Linked DNA regions of Homo sapiens: all the other regions are linked to region 2. Evidence: promoter capture Hi-C in human tissues and cell types (Jung and others, 2019). All regions are on one chromosome and are shown on one strand. The core of a region is centred on a gene start or on the middle of the fragment in contact, and the rest is flanking DNA. Distances in the headings are between cores, read along the strand shown.

The links. Contacts are between HindIII fragments. The study calls those that stand out against the background at their distance.
Region 1: a fragment that was not itself captured here is called in contact with the fragment with the promoter of BTBD16 in region 2 in 7 of the 25 tissues and cell types used here (IMR-90 fibroblasts, aorta, hippocampus and 4 more).
Region 3: a fragment that was not itself captured here is called in contact with the fragment with the promoter of BTBD16 in region 2 in 1 of the 25 tissues and cell types used here (spleen).

The regions. Positions count from the first base shown.
Region 1 is chr10:122,234,827-122,239,610 of GRCh38, forward strand. TACC2 (transforming acidic coiled-coil containing protein 2) reads left to right here. Exons shown (of 23, transcript NM_206862.4): 17 at 2,569-2,712; 18 at 3,135-3,211. Among named protein-coding and RNA genes, the nearest start is that of BTBD16, 34 kb to the right of the region's middle. The HindIII fragment of the contact is 8,813 bases long and covers 1-4,784 here.
Region 2 is chr10:122,270,046-122,274,687 of GRCh38, forward strand. It overlaps BTBD16 (BTB domain containing 16), which reads left to right and starts at 1,251. Exons shown (of 16, transcript NM_144587.5): 1 at 1,251-1,469. The HindIII fragment of the contact is 10,681 bases long and covers 1-4,642 here.
Region 3 is chr10:122,301,853-122,306,187 of GRCh38, forward strand. All of the region lies in intron 9 of BTBD16 (BTB domain containing 16), which reads left to right. Among named protein-coding and RNA genes, the nearest start is that of BTBD16, 33 kb to the left of the region's middle. The HindIII fragment of the contact is 8,257 bases long and covers 1-4,335 here.

The DNA of each region.
Region 1 (4,784 bases), core at 1,116-3,615, 34 kb before region 2:
AAGTTAGTTTTAATTAAATCAATTTTCTCCTGCGCTGCAGGGAGCCTGCTTATTTTGATCAGAATTGAATCTCATTCTGGGAAACCTTGTGCCCCAGTCTCTGAGATTCTCCATTTTATTCATCTTCAGAAGGTCCACGCTGAGTTTGATGGTGACTAATGTTGTTTTCATTTTGAAATTTTATTGCTCATTAAAAAAAACACACACATTTGTTGACTTTAAAAGTGAATAGTTTTTGTTTTTCCTTTTAAAATCCTTTGCCTTTTTAAAATTTTTTTAAGACAGAGTCTCACTCTGTCACCCAGGCTGGAGTGCAGTGGCGCGATCTCAGCTCACTGCAACCTTTGCCTCCTGGGTTTCAAGCGATTCTCGTGCCTCAGCCTCCCCAGTAGCTGGGATTACAGGCATGCACCACCACACCTGGCTAGTTTTTGTATTTTTAGTAGAGACAGGGTTTTGCCATGTTGGCCAGGCTGGTCTTGAACTCCTGGCCTCAAGTGATCCACCTGCCTCAGCCTCCCAAAGTGTTTGGATTACAGGTGTGAGCCACTGCAACCGGCCCCCAATTTTTTTTTATTAAAAATTTTTCTAGAGATGAGATCTCACAATGTTACCCAGGCTGTTCTCAAGCTCCTGGCCTCAAGGGATCCTCCCACCTCAGCCTCCCAAAGTGTTGGGATTACAGGTGTGAGTGAGCCACCGCACACGGCCCAGAATTTTTTTCAGAATTGTGTGTTTATGAACTTTCTCCATAAGGACAAATATTGAGTCTTGATCTCTGTGTCATTTTTCAGCTACTTCCTGAGAAGTTCCCCCATGACAAGCAGAACTGTGAAACCCATTTTCCAATAGCAGAGATGAACCCCTGCATGTGAGGCTCCGGCCCTGCGGCTTGGTGGTGCCCTTGCTTCTGGGAGGTCAGCCTGCCTCTGCTGAGGGCTATTAGTATATATTCTGGTCAAGCGTCCTTAAAACGGGGACTTCTTGAGGGCCTGAGCCTGCCCTGTTCTCACATGAGCGAGTCTCTGGGGTCTGCTTGAAGGGGACTGTGTACTTCCATCTCTGGCCAGTGGATCATTTGGGTCCTGCTTCAGGGTCACCCCAAGTATGCAAGGCCAGGCAGGGGCCAAGAAACCCAGGCAACAGACGTTCAATCTTCCAGGACAACCGAAACTATATAGTTTCACCCTGCATGTATACAGCTAACTAACCGGTCCTAACTCAGTCATCTCCGGTCCTATCCATTAAACTTCTTGAGTTTTCCAAGCTGTCTCCCTTCTCGGGTTCATTTTCCCTGATGCTGTCGTAGGGTAGGCACGCCTGTTCTGGTGGTGGAAGAGACAAATTCTGCACAGGTACCTTTAGGTCCTCCCCCTTCCCAGTTAATGTTGGCTCTTTAATCTTACCTGCTGTCCTTGATAAGCCCTCATTATTCTTTCCCCAAATCTCTCTCTCTCTACTACACTGTGGTAGCCTTCCACCATTCAATTTCTTCTCATAATTTCCCAAGGGAAGAAGCAGCCTACTCTGCCTGTTAGAGCACTCTAGTATTGATAACTAGGGTAGAGGTTCGCTGGGCAGCCATGACAGCGCCACGAGGTTAATGCATAGGACTGAGAGTGTGGTTGGTTTGATGTTTCTTTTGCAGTAGAAGTAGACTGACAACCCGGCTGTGCTGGTCAGTGATGCTGCTAACACCGCATTTCAACTGTGTTGCAAATTGCCGAGCATTTTGTGCAAAGGGAAAAAGAATAACCACAGATTCCTCCTCCTCACCTGTGGGAGGCCAGTATCTGTCCTCCACAAAAGGCTGTAAAGCCTCAACCAACATCAGTTGGGTGGGTTGGGGTGGTGGATCATGCCACTTGTTCAGGGTCTAATCAGCAGATGTGGATATTGTCATTGACCCAGTTTTTAATTTTCCCATTAACGTAACAGACTTCATGGCAACAGAACTCTTACATAACTCTAACATAACTCCAACATAACTCTTACATCCAGAGACTCTACCTAGCCAAAGGTGATATTGGTTGACAACTACAGTAGGCTTTAAGCTTTGCGTGACTCACATCCTTTCAAACAGAGCTAAACAAATGCCCCCAAAATGGAAATGTAAACAGTCTTACAAAAGTGATCAAATCTGTGGTTATTCAAAACTAGGAAAACATAGACTAGAATTCAACATTATTCACCATTGAGATCTCATTTTGGAAGTGGAGGCTGCTGAATAGTGCCCTGGGTTCTCAGGCGCTGTGCCTAAGTGGCTCAGTGAGTGATAAATGGCAGAGATAAGCAGGTACCAGACATGCTGGACTCCAAGGCCTCGGAGCTTAAGGGGCCTCTGCCATTAGCCCCTTTGTCTGCCTGCCCAGGTGCAGAATGATAGATCTCCATCCATAGACTGGACTCGGCATTTCCCTGTTCATCAGTCTTTGCACTTTCTCATACTTTTGATGTTCTTTGTTTCAAAACCATACAATTGGCCCATTCATGAGAGGGTGAGTGTAATCCTCTTTGTCGTATGATTAATGCTAACTGTTTTTTTTTTAATTAAAAACGATTCCACAGAGAGAGGCTGCTCACCCAACAGACGTCTCCATCTCCAAAACAGCCTTGTACTCCCGCATCGGGACCGCTGAGGTGGAGAAACCTGCAGGCCTTCTGTTCCAGCAGCCCGACCTGGACTCTGCCCTCCAGATCGCCAGAGCAGAGGTATCGTGGCATGTGGTGTAATTACCCTCTTCCTGCCACTTATAAATACGTATGCTCGTGGTCCACAAAGCCAGAGTCTTTGGAGACAGACTTTGTCCTCTGAACGCTGCAGGCAAAGATGTGTGGCACACCATGCGTTTTGATCTTCCTAGACGCTATCGTGTAATGGGCCTTTTGGCCTTGTTGAATTTACAACAAAAAGCATGCCCCTTTCAGTTGCTCCCCAGTGGGCACTGTGAAAGTCTGATATCTGGCTGCTTTCTTTTTTATGCTCGGGGAAGTTCTCTGAATGTAATTATGGTTTGTTGTAGGAAGTTTTCATTCCACATTTATTCACCGTCTCCTTTTCTTGATCTATGAATTGCTCAGAGCTGAATTCACTCATTTGGGGCTAACCTTTCTCTTCTTCTCTCTGAAACTAGATCATAACCAAGGAGAGAGAGGTCTCAGAATGGAAAGATAAATATGAAGAAAGCAGGCGGGAAGTGATGGAAATGAGGTCAGTTGGGGAGCTGGGCCTTCCTCGTGCCTGAGGGATACTTACCTGTGGTTTAATAATGACCGGAGCTGGTGTGGTCCACAGAAGAGTGTCTTCTGTGGAAGTTCTCTCTTCTTTATTACACACAGTTCATATTTTTCTAAAAGTATTTTTACTCTATTACTATTACTAAAATAGCATGCACATGAATTAAAGAATGCATTCAAATAAATGTATGTACAATGCAAAACAGATCTCCCCACTCAGCCTCCAGTTCCACAACTCGCAGGTGACTATCTTCTGTTTCTGGTGGATCCTTCCAAGAATTTTCCATTTCTCATCACAAATGTAACAATGAGTGTAAACAGCCTCTTTTTTCTCCAAAATAAATGAGAGCTTGCAGTATACATCATTCTACACTCTTTTTAATTAATTAATTTATTTTTTTGAAACAGAGTTTCGCTCTTGTTGCCCAGGCTGGAGTGCAGTGGCGCCACCTCGGCTCACTGCAACCTCCAACTCTGCCAGGTTCAAGTGATTCTCCTGCCTCAGCCACCCAAGTAACTGGGATTACAGGCGCCTGCCACCATGGCTGGCTAATTTTTTGTATTTTTAGTAGAGTCAGGGTTTCACCATGTTGGCCAGGCTGGTCTCAAACTCCTGACCTCAGATGATCCACCCGCCTCGGCCTCCCAAAGTGCTGGGATTACAGGCATGAGTCGCTGCGCCTGACCCACCACTCTTTTTAAATTTAATAGCATATTTTTGACGTATTTTTTATTCCTCTCTGCCTCACTCTGTTTAACAGGTGCTTAATGGTCCATTGTATGGATATAACGTAATTAATTTAAACAGTCTCTGTGGACAAACATTTAGGATGTTTCCTGACTGTAGCTTAAATGATTTATTTTCATTTGTGGTATGTTGTAATAGAAATATAGTCACCATGTATAGTGTACATAAGTGCAATGGCCGATACTAGTTTTTTTTGTGTGTGTGTTTTTGAGACGGAGTTTCCCTCTTGTTGCCCAGGCTGGAGTGCGATGGTGCGATCTCAGCTCACTATAACCTCCGCCTCCCGGGTTCAAGTGGTTCTCCTGCCTCGGCCTCCCAAGTAGCTGGGATTACAGGCACCTGCCACCATGCCCGGCTAATTTTTGTTTTGTATTTTTAGTAGAGATGGGGTTTTACCATGTTGGCCAGGCTGGTCTTGAACTCCTGACCTTAGGTGATCTGCCTGCCTTGGCCTCCCAAAGTTCTGGGATTACAGGCATGAGCCACTGCACCCAGCCCCGATACTAGTTTATTATCAAAATCAATTGCATTCCTGGCTACCATTTTAAGCAGAAAAGCGAACTGTAGGTAATCATATCCCGTTTTCTAGGTCATCGTAGGATCTTCCTGAAAATTCTCCTGTTCGTTCCTTCTTTCTGCTGATGGTTCCCTGTGACCACCTCTGGACATTGAGCCTAGCGTGCTATTTCACATTCAAACGAAAGCCCTGCATTTGCATTATTTTTAAACCTCTTTGTTTTTTCTCTTATTTGGGGGTATGGGTGGTTCTAGTTTTTTTACATGCACTGAAAATGAGGCA
Region 2 (4,642 bases), core at 1-2,500:
CACAGAACATTCCACAGCGATCGGCTTCTGTGCAAAGCAGAATATGGTGTTGGGAGGAGTAGAATCACAGGATTTGAGGGCTGAGGCGGGAGACAAATTCAGGGGTACCTCCCATTTATAGAGTGTTTCGTAGTTTCTAGATCACAGCCACAGGAGGCAGCGCAGCTACTTTCCCGTTTTACTTTAGGATGTATGTGGCCTAGGAGAGGCTGGCCTTGGGTCTTAAAAGCTGTACTGCCTCCTGGTTCCTATTACTGTAACTAGGGATTTCTGTGATCCCTGGGGTGGTGGTCCAGGCCTTTGATGGACCCGTGGTGACCCATGTGACTCTGACCCACATGGCCTCCACCTCCCCATCCCCTAGTTTGGGTCATGGGCTTCACAGGCCACGTCGCTGAGGACACTGTAAGATTGCACTTAGGGCCAGGTGCGGTGGCTCACACCTGTAATCTCAGCACTTTGGGAGGCCGAGGTGGGCAGATCACCTGAGGTCAGGAGTTCGAGACCAGCCTGGCTAATATGGTGAAACCCTGTCTCTACTAAAAATACAAAAATTAGGCCGGTGTGGTGGCGGGCACCTGTGATCCCAGCTATTCAGGAGGCTGAGGCACAAGAATTGCTTGAACCCGGTGAACCTAGGAGGCGGAGGTTGCAGTGAGTCAAGATCACACCACTGCACTCCAGCCTGGGCGATAGAGTGAGACTCCATCTCAGAGAAAAAAAAAAAGCAAAACAAAACAAACAAATCCCAAACATTTCCACTCTGGATGCCAGCTTGAAGGCTCTTGGTCTTGTCCTTGACTTTTAGGCAGTCCTTAGCTCCCAGAGAGAGCAGCATTAAAAATCATCATCAGCAAAGTACTTCATTAGGCATAGCTTTTAATAATGCGGAATGCTCAATTTTTATTGAAATATGTTTGTCAAAACACAGATAGAAAATGCTAGAAATAGAGCACCCCAGAATGCCAGAGCTGGGAGGCATCTGAGAAGCTTCTAGTCTAATCTTCTCCTTTGACAGATGAAGCCTGAAGATTTGGGGGTTGGTTCTCACTGAGGCTGTGCCCTGGGTTGCCCCAGGTGCTGTGAGGAACAGGAATGGAGGCACATGGCACCCACACTGGTCTCTGAGATGCCATCACTCACAGCTTCTCCCCATCAGCCAGGGCCTTGGACACAGCCCGAGCCTGAGTTGAAACCTGGCCCTGGAACAGGAAGTGCTTGGAAGCTTCCCTGCCGTTGCCGTGGTGCTCACAACCACCCAGGAAACCAAGGCAAGCTCCCCCTGTCAAAGCACCTTGGCCCATAAGAAGAAAAGGGGGAGCCCCAGATGTGATGAGCGCTTCCAGGCTTCAGGCTCAGAAGGCGCCCCCAGCTCTCCTGTAACTCAGAGGCCAGTGTGATGGGAGTTCCTCCACTCAGCACACTTCCCCTGTAAACACGCCTGTGGTGGGCAAAAGGGCTTTGGAACGGTAAGTACAATGGGTATTTTTCAGCCACTTCAGAGACCAAGAAATGTGTCCTAGTGACAGGTGCTGTCTTAGCACCTGTCTAGACCCAGTGTTAGACTTGGGTGCCTCTGGTCTACTTGGCAGGGAGGGAGTTTAGGGAATCAGGAGGGGTCTGGGAGCTGAGAGACCATTGTAGGTAGCTCCTGCCCGCCCACAGGGACCTTGGCACAGGCTCTCAAAACACACGAAGGGGCAGATTGCCTGGTGGGATGAAAAAAGAACACATTTCCAGGCCATTGAGATGTCTCTGGATTTCAAGATCAGCTAAAAAAGTTCTTAGATATTGATCTAAGAAAGCAGGAGCTTTGGGTAGCTGAGTGCAAACCCCAGCCTCCCTCTCTCTGTAACTGAAGCGGTGCTCTGTGGGCATAGCGAGTCCCGTGTGGGGTTTATTCTGTGCTGACCAGGTCTGCTTTAGAATGGAACCCTCTTCTCTCTTCTCAGATTCCTTAAGGCCACGTTGAGGATTTGGGGGTCTATGTCTAGGGCAGTGGGAAGCTGGTGAAGGGCTTTAAGCTGAGGAGTTCATCATCCTGGCTCCTGTGAGGTAAAGGGATCAGAAAAGCATGTATGTGTTACCTGAGGTGGGAGAAGCCTCACGCAAGGTGGAAACTCAGCCATCAAGGAAAACACACATTGCTGTAAACTCAAGTGCACCTCTGAAAGCTGGTTGAACAGCCAAAGATGCTCTTAACACACATGCATACATGGATGCAATTGCAGATGAAGACACCAGCAGCTGGGTACAAACACCAGGGCCATGTTTGTACCCAGACACGTTTCTTTTTCTTTTTTCTTTCCCCTCGAGACAGAGTTTCGCTCTTGTTTCCCAGGCTGGAGTGCAATGGTGAGAGTTTGGCTCACTGCAACCTCCACCTCCAGAGTTCAAGTGACTGTCCTGCCTCAGCCTCCCAAGTAGCTGGGATTACAGGCATGCGCCACCACACCCAGCTAATTTTGTATTTTTAGTAGAGACAAGGTTTCATCATATTGGTTAGGCTGGTCTTGAACTCCTGACCTCAGGTGATCCACCTGCCTTGGCCTCCCAAAGTGCTGGGATTACAGGCATGAGCCACTGGGCCTGGCCCCAGATATGTTTTCAAATTAGAGACTGGCAAAGGAAATACACACACACACACACACACACACACACAGGACATATTTTCATACTAATGAAACAATTTGTTTACCATAAACAAAGTCAAAAGACAAATGATACACTTCTGCAGCATGTATGGCAGACAAAATGTTAGTGTCCCCAGTACATAGAGGGCTCCTTAAAAAATGCTAGTGAGACTACAGTAACCCAGTAGAAAATTGCGGAAAACCTATGATTAGGCAGTTTTCAGAAAAGAAAAATTAAACAGCCAATAAATAGATAAAAGAATGCTCAACCCCACTGGTAGCCAGGAAAGTTCAAATTAAAGTAAGAATCTGAAACCATCTGACACTCACCAGCTTGGCAAAAATAAATACGATGATACTACCTAGTACTAAAGATGTTGTGAAAAAAATGACAACACTTATAAATTGGTGATAGGAATGTTAATTGCTGCAATTTTGGGGCAAGTGAATTGGTATTAACTATTTCAATTGAAGATACAGATCTCTGACATAACTATACCACTTGGAAGACTATTTCATAGAAATAAAAACAGCAACACAAAGATATATATATATATATATATATATACACACATACATACATATATATACAGATGCAGATATAGGTAACATGTATAGATATATGTATACACACATGTACACAAACTGCCATAATAATGTGTATGCATATTGTTCCCATTGTTTTTATTATGGGAATAAAATATAGGAAATAACCTCAATGACTTGGCAGAGGAATATTTTAATAAATAATGATGCATTCACTGTATGAAATATTATGCGGCCAGAAACAGTGTCTCATGCCCATAATCCTGGCACTTTGGGAGGCCAAGGCAGGAGGATTGCTTGATATCAGGAGTTCAAGACCAGTCTGGGCAATATAGATCAGTCTGGGCAACCCTGGCTCTAGAAAAATTAAAAAATTAGCCAGGTGTGGTAGCGGACACCTGTAGTCCCAGCTACTGGGGAGGCTGAAGTGGGAGGATCACTTGAGCCCAGAAGATTGAGGCTGCAGTGAGCCTTTATCACACCACTGCACTCCAGCCTGGGCAACAGAGCAAGACCCTGTCTCAAAAAAAGAAAAAGTGATATTATGCAGCTATGTTAAATTTTTCTTTCCTGTCATTGTATTGGTTCACTAGTTACAACAAGCATATATTATTAATACTTTTGCAATTAAAAAGTCCAATTAAGGCAATTAAAAGGCAAAGAAAAACCTGTCTGCCCAAGTGGAATGGAAATTCTATGAGGCAAGGATCGTGTGCATTTTGCTCACTGCTGTCTCTCAGAAACGGCTAACGCCTCTCTCCATATGGCGACTGCACAGGAGATGCTTGTTGGTGAATGGATGAACATAGCCATGGCTGTGATGCAGGTGAAGTGCTGTTTGGGGAGCAAAGGGAGGTCAGCTGAGGTTCTTGGTCATCAAGTGCCGTGGCTTCTGCTGGTTTCACCAGCTCACCCACTTCTCCTCTTCTCTGATGTTGCTCTGGGGAACTACCCAGTCCCCAGTGCACGTTCTTGTTGGGAGAATTAGTCAAGGTGTCTGCCCTCAGGGGCCAAAGAGTGGGCCCCTGAGCTAAGCCAGGCCAGTTGGGGCCTCTTGCTGAGAATCTGGATTGAAAAGAACCCTGCATAGATGGACTGTGGGAGAGCCGACTCATGCTGGAGGCAGCGCCTGACAACAACAGCCACCAACTCCTGGTGCGTGCCACCCAGGTCCCTGCAGCTGCTTCCTGTTCTTTCCCGGAGAGTTCTCCAGTTTCCTTTTGAGTCTATGAGACCCTCCTCTCATCACCATCCTTCCAATCAATCTTAACCTCCCCGCAACCCCATAATCAAATGGGTTTCTGTTGCTTGTAACCCAACAGCCCTGATAATGTTCAGAGATAACTGGAAAGTCCTTGCACTCTTCCTCTTTCATGACCCTGTAAGCTAGGGTGACCATCAGTCTACAGAGCTCCAGGGCAGCCCTGGCCTACAGCCATTGTCCAGGCCTAATTATTAATATC
Region 3 (4,335 bases), core at 1,440-3,939, 33 kb after region 2:
CAGGGCAGGGCCTCCACTGGCTCCAAAGTCCACGTCTTGCCCTGTGTGCTGCACCCCTCGTCGTTGGTCATGGAGGCCAAGGCTACCAGCAACTAAAAGGACATAGTGAGAACCGAGTGGTCCCAAGGAGTCACGTGGCCCCGGAGTGGGATGTGTGGAAATGCAGACTCCAAGGTCAGGGGTGGAGTGGCCCTTGGCTTGACTTATCAGCCCCTCCAGCTGTGGGGCCAATTCCCTGTTTGTGGTCACATGTGTTTGGAACAACGTCCATTTCTCAGCAGATGCTGCAGCTTCTGGGCCATTCAGCCGTCTCCATCTGAAGTCCCTCGAGCTCATCTTCCTTCAGCTTTTGCTTTCCATTTTGTAAACCACCTGGGGTAAAATATGCAACAGTTTTCCTGACCTCCTGGGCCTCCAGTCTAAATTTATTTGCCTGGCATTTGGTTTCCAGTTAATTTTCTTCTTATAGGTCACTGTTGGGTTACACTGTTCTGCTAACTCTAATATTAAGAAGCTTTCATTCCAAGTTCTGTTTTTCTGGAAGCCAAGCTGCTCATGGACTTAGGAGGATGGAGACCTCAGAGCACTGTCTAGCTCCCATCTCAACAAAAGACTACCTTGCGACCAGGGGCACTGTATCCCTGTGTCTCCAATTCTCCCTGACTTCCCGCCTATAACCCGAGAAGTCTCGAGGTCTCAGGAATTCCCTAAGAAGAGCTATGCATGTCCTCCTTGTTGCATCTGTCCCATGGCTTTGCCCTCCAGCATGGGACAAGGTTCCTATGGGTGTCTGGGACACCCCTGGGCACCCATCTCAAATATAATAGTTCCTGAATCCAATGCTTTTTTAGCTAACACTAACAATACCCACCAATTATTCAGCTATATACAGTTGTTGTTGTATAGAGAATATTCTGAGTGAGTTACCCAGACTGATTCCTATAGCAACCTAATGAGATGGATACTGTTGGTGTTTCTTGCCTGTGGAATAGAGATGATAGGAAATGACGGGATCAGCTGAAGGTCTCCTCATGCAACATGAGAGTTGGGATTTGAACCCACGTCTGAGTGGCCTAAAGCCTGTGGTCATTACCAGCTCACTGACGTGCTCTGCATGAGGCCTTCTTTTTCCTTATTGATGGTCAAGAACAATAGGAATATTAATATTTTTACTGTTAAAAAAAGTATATCTCCTTGTAGTTTCTGAAAAAAAAGTATAAAGGTAGAATTATAATACAAAACACAATTGTACTCATCTCCCCAAATGAACGAATATTAATATTTTGTCTTAAATTGAGAAATCAAACATTTCCAATGAAGCAGAAGTCGCCTATGTTTCCCTCCCAGTCCCATTCCCTTCCTCATTTCTGCCTCCTTCCCCTCCTAAAGACAATTAAACCACTGTTAGGAACTTGTGCAGATTTAATCTATGTAATTTTACTCTTACCACATGAATAATATTGCTTTAAAAGATTTAAACTTGAAATACATGTTCTCATCGTGATTGTAACGTTCTGCAACTTATTCACTTACATCGTGTGTTGTGTTCTCTCCATGTTGATATTTGCATATCTAATGAGCATTTAAAATTTTAATTGTAAAGGGTTCTATTGAATGAATGCACAACGATCTCTTTTCACTCCCTTCCTAATGGCCTTTTGTTTTGTTTTGTTTTGTTTGTTTGCTGTGACAAGCGATGGAGCAGTGGGCATCCTTGTTCATATCTTACTCACATGGTCATGGCTTTCTCTATGGTCTACATACGAAAGAGGACTTTTATTGTTTATATATAATTTTCTCAGTGAAAAATAGAGGACAGTGTCTTATGAAAAGCATTTTTTTCCCCTAAAGAACAATTACCATTTACATTCCAATGGCTGCTAGCGAGTGCCAGTAAACACACATGGTACAGCCCATAGAGGGAGGTTCAAGTCCCTGTGGGTTCTGTCTTGATTGAGGCCATCAGAGCTCTTAGGTAAATGAAAAGGTGTGTGAATGTCTTTGGTGTGGTTATCTGTTGCACAAACGAATACTTTCAGGTCTGATATTGACCTAAAGACAGAGGAATTTACTTTAATAATTATGCTTCATAAATAATAGAACCAGGATTCTGATTCGTGGAGCTCCCAAGGACTCCCCCATGTTGCTGCTAGCCCCTCTTTAGTGAGACCTCAAAGGGCCTTCTGGGCTTGAGGACCTCAGGTGTGGAGTCTACACTGGAAATCACACCACTTCGCCAGCCCAGCTGACAAAGTTCTTCACAGGGACATCATACCAAGTGCTCTGAGGAGAGTCTCCCCTTCCGGCCTCACGATGATTGCCAGATGGTGACAAACTTGGTCCTGTCTGGCCAGAGTCAAAGTCCATGCATTTGTAGGTGGCCTGAAAACCAAAGGAGAGGAAAGAGACAGTTTTACTCTGTTCAGAAATAGCATGAGAGGTGGGTGACATTTTCATTGTCCTTTAGAGTCACGGTTTGTCTTTGGTGCCACCCACCATAACCACATAGAGTGGTTGAATGTGGAAGCGGTGATGTATTTTAAGGCCAGGGTGCAATGTCCATGGTCAGAGACTGAAAATGTCAACGGGTTTAAGAAATGTTGAAATGGCTCCATAGATAACCATCAGAGGCTACTAGAGAAGGGGGTTGGGAGATAGCCACACTTACAGAGCTGACATTACGGGGTAGCAGGTATTCTTTTTTTTTTTTTTTTTTTTTTGAGACAGAGTCTCCCTATGTCGCCCAGGCTGGAGTGCAGTGGCGTGATCTCTGCTCACTGCAAGCTCTGCCTCCCAGGTTCACGCCATTCTCCTGCCTCAGCCTCCTGAGTAGCTGGGACTCAGGCGCCTGCCACCATGCCCGGATAATTTTTTGTATTTTTAGTAGAGACGGGGTTTCATCATGTTAGCCAAGATGGTCTTGATCTCCTGACCTCGTGATCTGCCCGCCTCGGCCTCCCAAAGTGCTGGGATTACAGGTGTGAGCCACTGCGCCTGGCCAGCAGCTATTCTTTGGCAATGCTCATTTATGGAGGAGAGGCCTCATGCTGCAGCAGGTACTGCACAGGCTCTGGAGCTAGGACCTGACCCTGCCACATATCCATAAGAGCTTCCATCCGCTGAGCATGTCATGATGTGCCAGGCACTGTACTAAGCACTTTGTATGTATGCAGTCAGTAGAATGATGGCCCCACAGATGTCCACATCTCACTGGCTGGAACCTGTGAATATGTTGGGTTGTATGGCAAAGGAAACTAAGGCTGCAGATGGAACTAAGGTCAGTAATCAGCTGATTCTTTTCTTTCTTTCCAACTTTCATTTTAGGTTCAGGGGTACATGTGCAGGTTGTACATGAGTAAATTGCATGTCACAGGGATTTGGTGTACAGATAATTTTGTCACCCAGGTGATCAGTATAATATCCTTGATATAGTTTAGATGTGTGTCCCCACCAAATCTCACATTGAATTGTAATCCCCAGTGTTGGAGATGGGACCTGGTGAGAGGTGATTGGATCATGGTGGTGGATTTCTCACTAATGGCTTAGCACCATCCTCTTGGTGCTGTTCTCCTGATAGTGAGTGAGTTCCCTTGAGATCTGGTCATTTCAAAGGGTGTGGCACCTCCTGCCTTGCTCTCTCCTGCTCTTGCTCTGGCTGTGTGACATCCTCCTCCCCCTTTACCTTCTGCCAAGATGGTAAGTTTCCTGAGGCCTCTCCAGAAGCCAAGCAGATGCCAGCATCATGCTTCCTGTACAGCCCATGGAACTGTGAGTCAAGTAAACCTCTTTTCTTTACAAATTACCCAGTCTCAGATATTTCTTTGTAGCAATTCAACAACAGAACAGTACAACCCTATACATAGTTTTTCAATCCTCGCCCTCTTCCTACCCACCACCATCAGGTAGGCCCTGTGTCTATTGTTCCCTTAATGGTGTCCATGTGTACTCAATGTTTAAGCTCCCACTGACAAGTGAGAACATGCAGTATTTAGTTTTCTATTCCTGTGTCAATTTGCTTAGGATAATGGCCTCCAGCTCTACCCATGTTGCTGCAAATGACATGCCTTCACTCTTTTTCATGGCTGTATAGTATTTTATGGTGTATATGTACCATGGTTTCTTTACCCAGTCCACCACTGATGGGCACCTAGGTTGATTCCATGTCTTTGCTATTGTGAATAGTGTCCGCGGGCTTTAAAATGAGGAGCTTATTCTAGATGACCTGGGTGGGCCCATGGTGATCACAAGGACCTTGTAAATGTGAAGAGGGAAGCCAAAGAGTCAGAACCATAGAGAGATTTGAAGATGCTGAACTGCTGACTTGAAGACTGAGAA